Linked DNA regions of Homo sapiens: region 1 is linked to region 2. Evidence: promoter capture Hi-C in 16 types of primary human blood cells and fetal thymus (Javierre and others, 2016). All regions are on one chromosome and are shown on one strand. Each heading gives the region's core, a stretch centred on a gene start or on the middle of the fragment in contact. The rest is flanking DNA. Distances are from core to core; before and after follow the strand shown. Region 1 has its middle 49 kb from the start of DHRS7C. Region 2 holds the start of STX8 (syntaxin 8).

The links. Contacts are between HindIII fragments. The CHiCAGO score rates a contact against its expected background, and 5 or more counts as called.
Region 1: a fragment that was not itself captured here is called in contact with the fragment with the promoter of STX8 in region 2 in 1 of 17 cell types (megakaryocytes); the score reaches 5.1 in megakaryocytes.

The regions. Positions count from the first base shown.
Region 1 is chr17:9,740,110-9,745,062 of GRCh38, forward strand. No RefSeq gene overlaps it. Among named protein-coding and RNA genes, the nearest start is that of DHRS7C, 49 kb to the right of the region's middle. The HindIII fragment of the contact is 1,796 bases long and covers 2,389-4,184 here.
Region 2 is chr17:9,573,133-9,577,792 of GRCh38, forward strand. It overlaps STX8 (syntaxin 8), which reads right to left and starts at 2,688. Exons shown (of 8, transcript NM_004853.3): 1 at 2,660-2,688. The coding sequence starts at 2,676. It overlaps CFAP52 (cilia and flagella associated protein 52), which reads left to right and starts at 3,510. Exons shown (of 14, transcript NM_145054.5): 1 at 3,510-3,633. The coding sequence starts at 3,564. RefSeq lists enhancers at 2,671-2,850, 3,643-3,772. The HindIII fragment of the contact is 4,659 bases long and covers 1-4,427 here.

The sequences.
Region 1 (4,953 bases), core at 2,037-4,536, 170 kb after region 2:
TCTCCCAGGCTGCAGTGCAATGGTGCGATCTTGGTTCACTGCAGTCTCTGCCTCTCAGGTTCAAGCGATTCTTCTGCCTCAGCCTCCTGAGTAGCTGGAATTACAAGTGCCTGCCACCACGCCTGGCTAATTTTTGTACTTTTAGCAGACATGGGGTTTCACCACGTTGGCCAGGCTGGTCTCAAACTCCTGACCTCAGGTGATCCACCTACCTCGGCCTCCCGAGGTGCTGGGATTATAGGCGTGAGCCACCATGCCTGGCCGACCATAGGATTCGAACAGATATCATGAAAGATGAAGAGGGCAGGAAAAAAGTAAAGAGCAATGAGTCTCATAATTTATATCATTACATCTTAATGATATAAATCGAGATAAAATACAGTTGGATCACGGAATACTATGCAGCCAGAAAAAAGAATGAAATTATATCCTTTGCAGCAACATGGATGAACCTGGAGGCCATTATCCTAAGTGAACTAACTCAGAAGCAGAAAATGAAATATCTCATGTTCTCATTTATAAGTGAGAACTAAATGATGGATACACATGAATGTAAAGATGAAAATAACAGACACTGGGACTTCAAAAGAGGGGAGGGCATGAGGAGATTAAGGGTTGAAAAATTACCAATTGGGTGCTGGAAGGGCCAATTCAATGAATACCTCACTCACCATGCTGTCATAGATATTTCTACCTTCTTTTGTAATTGTTTTTCTTTTTTTTTTCCAATATTTGGGTGATGGATACACTAGAAGCTCAGTCCCCACTGTTACACAATATACCCATGTAACAAACACACATTTGTACCCCTGAATCTAATATTTTTAAAAGGAGATAAAACACAGTTGAAAACTTAAAATATTGGCCAGTTGCGGTGGCTCATGCCTGTAATCCCAGCACTTTCGGAGGCTAAGGCGGGTGGATCGCTTGAGGTCAGGAGTTTTGAGACTAGCCTGGCGAAATGGTGAAACCTCTTCTCTACTAAAAATATAAAAAAATTAGCCAGGCATGGTGGTGCATGCCTTTAATCCTAGCTACTCACGAGGCTGAGGTGGGAGGATCGCTTGAACCTGGGATGTGGAGGTTGCAGTGAGCTGAGATCACGACACTGCACTTCAGCCTGGGTAACAGAGTGAGACTTTGCATATGTATATACACATACATATATATGAACAAAGAACAAAGTTTAAAATATTGTGTTAAATGAATATGATTGAAACAGAAGTGATACAAAAATAGAGAATAATGTAATAATAAATTGAATGTAAATTTTTAAACTGTTTCAGCAAAATCAAGCCACAAAAGGGGGCTATCTAGACAAGACAGGCAAAGTACAAATCTGGCAGTAGAGACAAGTTCCCAAGCCCCTTGCTCTCCTTATTTCCACTGATGTGGTTATCTTTGAGTTTGGCAATTTTAGTGTGTGGTTCTTTGCTTTCAATTATCTTTCAGAGAGCAGTCTGTGTGTTCAATCTGGCTTCTAGATGGGGGAAAGCCTGTGAAGTTATTTCCGGGCTGGAAGGGCCAATTCAATGAATACCTCACCCACCATGCTGTCACAGACATTTCTATCTTCTTTTGTAATTATTACTATTTTTTTTTTGAGATGGAGTCTCACTCTGTTGCCCAGGCTAGAGTGCAGTGGTGCAATCTCAGCTCATGGCAAGCTCCACCTCCCAGGTTCATGCCATTCTCCTGCCTCAGCCTCCTGAGTAGATGGGACTACAGGTGCCCGCCACCATGCCTGGCTAATGTTTTGTATTTTTAGTAGAGATGGGGTTTCACCGTGTTAGCCAGGATGGTCTCGAACTCCTGACCTCCTTGAACTCCTTGGCTTCCCAAAGTGCTGGGATTACAGGTGTGAGCCACCGTGCCTGGCCTAATTGGTTTTTAGTTACGTACCACCATACTAAAGTTATTGTTTTGCTACTTGCTTTCTTTTCCAACTTAAAATTTTGGAGCTTTTCCCAGATCTCTATAGATTGGCCCTATAGATTCTTTTCAAATGTTGCTTATAACTTCTTAATGCAAATGAACCATAGTTTGTCCCCCAATTCAGGAGCATGTAGATTTTTTTTTTTTCGGACACAGGGTTGAACTCTGTTGCCCAGGCTGGAGTGTGGTGGCATGATCTCGGCTCATCGCAACCTTGACGTCCCAGGCTCAAGCAATCCTCCCACTTCAGCCTCCTGAGTAGCTGAGACTATAGGCATGCACCACCATACCTGGCTAATTTAAAAAAAAATTTTTTTGTAGGGATGGGGGGGTCTCACTTTGTTGCCCAGGCTGGTCTTGAACCCCAGGTCTCAAGGGATCCTCTCACTTTGGCCTTCCAAAATGCTGGGATTACAGGCGTGAGTCACCGTGCCTGGCCATAGATTGTTTCTAAGCTTTTGCCATTGAAAACAAAAATGTCCTAAAAAGAAACAGTGTCCTGAACATCATTCTTTATATATCTTCTAGGAGAAAAACTTTGTCTTGTTACATTAAATTATGTTCTGGTGTGAAGGAATTTACATATTTAAAGATATCTTTTATTGGAGAAAGAGAGTGGCTAGTGGGCGAATGTAGAGGGAGCGTCCTCAGGATGTGGCCTGCCCTTTTGCAGATGCCGACTACTGGAGTGTGTTATTAGCCTTGTAATTTTCTCCGATGTTTGCCATGAATGAAGCACTTGAGCTGAGTATCAATGATAACGTTTTCAGAATGGCATGTGTCTCCTTGGGTTTGACATTCCCATTCTCTCATGTGCTGTCCCTTAGACAACATATTCTCCACGACAACCTTTTTTTTTTTTTGAGATGGAGTCTCACTCTGTTGCCCAGGCTGGAGTGGAATGGCGCAATCTCGGCTCACTGCAAACTCCACCTCCCAGGTTCAAGTGATTCTCCTGCCTCAGCCTCCAGAGTAGCTGAGATTACAGGCACGTGCCACCACGCCCGGCTAGTTTTTGTATTTTTAGTAGAGATGGGGTTTCACCATATTGGCCAGGCTGGTCTCAAACTCCTGACCTTGTGATCCGCCCACCTTGGCCTCCCAAAGTGCTAGGATTACAGGCGTGAGCCACCACGCCCGGCTGACAATCTCTTGTAGGTGACCTGGTATCTTCATTTTCCTTTCAGGGACTGAGGACGCTGGGCAAGACACCGTCAACACAAGGCTCTTCACCAGCCTGGGGGAAAACCAGACATCCGCATCCACACCTGAAACAGGGCAAGCCGCCTCCTGACGAAAGCCCTGTGAAACACAAGAAGCATTCCTTCAGGATTCTTCTAAAGATAAAAGAATCTCGGAGTAGGGCTTCTATTAGGTAAATGGCTTATGATAACCTCATGTGAGAGGTTAAACAAAGGTTACAGGGCTTAGAACAGCACTGAGGGGACTGGGCGGCTACTCGAGAGAGATCAACCAAGGACTGGGAGGTGAGTTTTTGTCCCAGACACGTGCTCATTGCAGTGACTTTGAGCAAGTCACCTCATCCCCCTGTGTCTTATTTTCATTACATGGCATATGTAGAAAGAGGATCTTCTAGCTCGGACAATTGTTTGATTGTACTGGGAAGTGGTTAAGGCTCTGGAGTCACACTTTCTGGATTTGATGACCAGATCCACTGTTTACTAAATGCAGGATTTGGAAAATTGCTCATCTATAAAATGAGCTTGATGAGGCAACCTACCTCGCTGAACTGTGATGAGGATTACACTCATTGGGAATATTCACAATAGTGCCAAACATATAAAAGTGTTCAATAAATGTTCATTTTTATTATGTCTATAACCTTCTAATCAAAGAGAGCATTGTAAATCTTAAGGGAAGACTCAGGAAGAATGTAGAACAAAAGTGAGTGTTTCGGTTGGGACATAAGGCACCTGCAGAGGAAATTCTTCTATGATGAGGAGAACTTGGGAAGGACTTAATTTTATCTTAAAACCCAGAGAGCTCTTCAATTCAGCTATGATGTGTTTTCCTTGCCAGGACCCTGGATCTCAAAGAGGAAGGGAAGAAGAACACTCTTTGACTTTCTCCTCTTTGTGTGGATGTTGGATTTTCTGCTGGGAACCAGACTGGCACAGAGGAAGGTGAGACTGTTTTCTTTCCACTCCTTTACTCAGTCCCTGATGTTGGTGCTATAAGTAGCAGTCAGAGTCCAATTAGGAGACAGAAACCACACAGTAATTTGAACAAGCTTAATATAAATATACCTTATTAATTACAACATGTTACAGCATAACAACACTATAACAGATTATTGAGGAATTGGCTCATAATAAGTAAAGAGAATTCTAAACAATGTGGGAGGGTCGGACGCAGTGGCACACACTTGTAATCCCAGCACTTTGGGAGGCTGAGGTGGGTGGATCATTTGAGGTCAGGCGTTCAAGATCAGCCTGGCCAACATGGTAAAACCCCGTAGTAGAGGCACGCACTTGTAATCCCAGCTACTCAGGAGGCTGAGGCAGGAGAATCGCTTGAACCCTGGAGGTGGAGGTTGCAGTGAGCCGAGATCTCACCATTGCACTCCAGCCTGGGCGAAAAGAGTGAAACTCCATCTCTTAAAAAAAAAAAAGAATGTGGGAATAGCAGATATACCTCTAGGGGCTCAGATAGAGTATTCAGGAATGAGACCCTACATCCCCACGACTGGGGTGCCAATCTATGGCCACTGGTTGGAGACAAGTTGAGTGGTACTGCACCCTGGAAGGCGGGAAATCTGCCTTCCAGGATGTTGTAGGGGAAGCTATTCAAAGGAGGTTTCTCCCAGGAGGCACTCCAATACAGTACTCCAAGGGGGTTGCTGGGGAAGCTGCTGGCTGCCATGCACCGCACAAGCTGGATATTGGAAAAGCCACCTGCATTAAGGGAGCCTGCTGTTGGACATGCTGCCTCTGCTGCAGGAGCTGGGCACTGGGGAAGCCCTGCCTGTGCGGCAGGGGCTTGCTGAGAGAAGCACTC
Region 2 (4,660 bases), core at 1,438-3,937:
CATTCCAAAGTTAACCTGAAACACTGGTTCAGGCCATGATGGGAAGAGGGGATCAGACATGCCTCATTATATATCCTCTCCTCCTTTTTGGAATTCAGGAAAAGCCAACCAGCATTAACGTCAATACAGACCTTAAGTCTGATAAGAAACACTTACAATGTATTCTCTCTAAAGCCTGCTACCCAGAGGCTTCATTTGCATAATAAAATCTTGGTCTCCACTACCCCTTATCATAACCCAGACATTCGTTTCTATTGATAATAACTCAACCAATTGCCAATCAGAAAATTTTTCAATCTACTTATGACCTGGAAGCCCCCCACGCCCTTCGAGGTGTCCCTCCCTTCTGGATTGAGCCATCATAAATCTTACATGTATTAATTCATGTATTATTCTCCCTAAATTGTATAAAAGCAAGCTGTTCCCCAACCACCTTGGGCACAGGTCTTCAGAACCTCCTGAGGCTGTGTCATGGGTGCATTCTTAACCTTGGCAAAATAAACTTTCTAAATTGACTGAGACCTGTCTCAGATACTTTGGGGTTCACAGTATCAAGGGCCTTAAAAATGTTTATACCCTTGAGCCCAACAGTTCTATTTCACTTTCAACAGTCTAATGAGAAAGCCACTTAGTCAAACTGATTGAGAATAACAAAAAAAGTATAAATGCTTCACTTTCAACAGTTCTAATTCCTACTTCTAGACAGGGAGCCCAAGGAAATAAGAGATAGAACAAAGGGACTCCCTTTGCAATGATAAAACAAAACAAAACATCAGAAAAACAAAAAACTAATAGGAGAAAAATAAATTATGGTCATTCATGTGATGCATTATTTTGCAACATAAGACAATTATGAGGCCAGGTGCGGTGGCTCACACCTGTAATCCCAGCACTTTGGGAGGCCAAGGCGGGCAGATTGCCTGAGCTCAGGAGTTCAAGATCAGCCTAGGCAACACGGTAAAACCCTGTCTCTACTAAAATACAAAAAATTAGCTGGGCGTGGCTGCGTGCGCCTGTAGTCCCAGCTACTCCAGAGGCTGAGGCAGGAGAGTTGCTTAAGCCCAGGAGGTGGAGGTTGCAGTGAGCCATGATCGCGCCATTGCACTCCAGCCTGGGTGACAGACAGAGCAAGACTCCGTCTCAAAAAAAAAAAAAAGAAGAAAAGAAAGTTATGCTTTCAAAGAATGTCCAATGACATAGAGAAATGCTGTTTATATTATATATATATATAAAAATATAGATTAAAATAACAAATTCATTGTAAAAAAATCATTAATGGCTATTTCCAAATTATAGAGTTAAAGATGCTATTTATTTTCCTTTTTGCAAATTTTCAATATTCTCTAAATTGAATATTCTCTATCAAGGGGTGTATATAACTGTTAAAATTAGGGATTTTGGGGTTTTTTATTTTTTTTTGAGACGGAGTTTCGCTCGTGTTGCCCAGGCTGGAGTGCAATGGCACGATCTCAGCTCACCACAACCTACACCTCCCGGGTTCAAGCGATTCTCCTGCCTCAGTCTCCCGAGTAGCTGGGATTACAGGCATGTACTACCATGCCCGGCTAATTTTGTATTTTTAGTAGAGACGGGGTTTCTCCATGTTGGTCAGGCTGGTCTCGACCTCCCGACCTCAGGTGATCTGCCTGCCTCGGCCTCCCAAAGTACTGGGATTACAGGCGTGAGCCACCACCGCGTCCGGCCTAAAATTAGGTTTAAAAAAGTAAATGCTAAATTAAATAATTGGCCCAAATAACCTAGATTCCAGGTAACTCAACTTTGTTCTTGGAATCCATTCTTCTAATATCCAGGATGTGGGCAACTTAAACAATTATAAACTATATTAGAAATAACAACATAAGACACATATTCCAACAAGAACGTTATAGAGCTGTAATATGTTTTTAATTATTAAGCAGAAAGGTCAAGTCTATGTTCAATAACAATACGTTCCTTGGGATCAAACAATATGTTCCTTGGGATCAAAAGTTGCATCTTTCATCATGCAGTCCTTGGGATTAACTGCTAAATAAATCACCCTTATCAGCTATTGTTTTACTGCAGAAGCTACTGCTAAAGGAAAAGACTTCATGATATTAACTCAAGAAAGTGCAAAATGCCTTATAAACAAGTGCACAATTTCCCTCCCAGGTTCCTGTATCTGGAAGGGCCCCCAAGATCTAGGTCTTAGCCCCAGCTGGTTACTAACTGGCTGGTGGCCATGGATTCTGAACCTCGGTTTCTCCACCTGTGAAATAAGGGGGTTTACCGGGATGGACTGACATGCTACAAAAACGTTATTTCGACTTCACTTTTATAGGAGTCCAGGGAAGCCTGCACCAGCCAGCTAGCTCCAAAACCAGGATGGGCGGGAAATCCCCGCAACGAGATGCAGCCCAGAAAAGCTAAAGGAATATTCAGAGATTTGGCGTAAGTCCTCAGCTCTCCAGCGGACCACCTGGTCTCCTTCCCGGGCCACCCTTGCAAGGACCAAGTGTGGCGGGATGTGGCTGAGCCCCCTCAGTAAAGGAAAGGTCTCGCTGCCCCTCCCCTCATCCCGAAAGGCCACCAGCGGCAATGCGAAGTGATTGCCTGCTCTCCGGAAGCCCGGCCTCCCCGAAGGTCCCTCCACGCACCGCCGCCCTCACCCGGGACTCACCAGGGGTCCGGTGCCATCCTGCAGACTCCGCCCGCCGCTCGGACTCTTCCTGCTCTTAGCAGCTGACTACGGCGGCCCGCGCGGCTCACTCCCCGCAGTTCGTCCCGTGCGCGACCGGAGCCTGGAGTTTGCAAAGTGAGTAGCTAGGGCCTCAGAACTATAATCAGAGAAAGCAAAGCGCTCCCCTGCGGACAGTACACTGGAGCAATCTACTCCCACCAAGAGACGCGAACTGCTAAGCTCAGTTAAAATTGTTAAATAGAAACAAAGCATTTTCCCAGGAAGGTGGGAGCGCTGCAAGACCTCTCTGTAGCAGTTACTTAAAAATTTATCCTGCTTCAAAAACAAAACAATAAACAAAACACTAGATTGCGGTGAGACTTGCACGCTGCGTAAACTCACTACAACCTACTTTAAGTTAACTTTATGATATGTAAATTATACCTCAACGCTTTTTAAAAAATCTTTAAAATTTTTTTCACACTGCTCCAAACAGGGGCCCAAAGAAGTATCAATTATATATATTTTTTATAGCAGCCTTCCTATCAGTCCTGTACGCCTGATTACATATTTTTTAAATGCCATTCATTCGGTGCTTGATTTTAGAGTTACTAAGAAGTCACAGACTCTACACAAGGGGATGGAGGAATTAGTTCTGCGCAGTTAGTGCCATCCCCTAAATTTCCAGAGAAATAGCACAAAAAAAAAGAAGAGGAGTCCCACCCCATCTCTCTTCCAGTCCCCATACCCCTTCATTTCCAAGAATGCTAATGAACTCGAACTCGGCAGGCTGGGTTTCTGCGCGGGCGTGGAGCTGGAGCGCATGCGCTCGTCCGTTACCATAACGACCAGAAGACGCTGCAGCCACTAGGGAGGAGAGCAAAGTAATCAGAACCTCCCAAGGATGGATAACAAAATTTCGCCGGAGGCCCAAGTGGCGGAGCTGGAACTTGACGCCGTGATCGGCTTCAATGGTGAGGCCTCCAGCATCTTTGGGCTGGCTGGTTTAGGAATTCGGAGGACGTGTAGTGCAAACAGGAATAGTGAGACACCGGGGACACCTGAAAGGCAGTGTGGGACAACGGCAGGAGCCCTGGCCAGGGACACGCACAGGAGGACCCGCACAGCCTGACCTGCCCCAAGGCCTTGGAGAGTCACTTCCTCGATCCAAGCCTCAGGGAGTGAGATGGTTTTTACCAGCTCGGACAAGCGCCAGCACCTAAAAGGGACCAAATGCCTCTTCCCCAGGCGGGCCGGATGAGTACGGGTGGTTGTAACCCTTCTCCCACTAGGTCAGCCCTTCCTGGCTCTGAACCCCACGCCGCTCGCAAAGCCCTAGGCTCCTTCGTAACCACACAGAAGGATGCTGTCTGTGTCGGCCCCTGGGACCAGCTAGGAAATCTGCTAAAATCCCAACTGGCGTACCAGTGAGAAAGGGCTGGGAGGGAACGTGTGTTTGAGCAACCCCCTGAGGGGATGTTGTTGGTCCTCTAATCCTAAGGAAGGTTTCTAAATGATGAGGATTTCAGACCAGGACAGAAGGGGAAGGGGACGCCAGGGGGAGCTAAAGCGGAGAGAAAAAGGGACTGGGCCGCTCCGCTGAAATCTTATTTGTGACTGCCTATTGTTTTGAAGATTCTGGGAAGAAAAAGCTGTGGGGTTTTATTGTTCGTTTTGAGGGGTTTTGGTTTTTTGAGGGATGAGAAAACAATGAATTAGATTTTAGGAGAAGCAAAACTTTTCAAAAATGTGTGTTGTGATGCCTGAAAGCTTTAAGAATGTGGATGCAGAACAATCACTGTCTAAAGTTTTAAGCATACTCTAGGACTTAGCTCTTGACTCTTGGTTTAACTTTAACAGTCTCCAATAGAAAGTGAGTGCTTTATACATTTCGGATATCAGATATCTTGAGAGTTGGTTACAAGATCATTGAGAAACAATTGAGCAGCCTACAGTGGGTTGCATAATGTCACTTGTTGAGCCAATGTAGAACCACACACA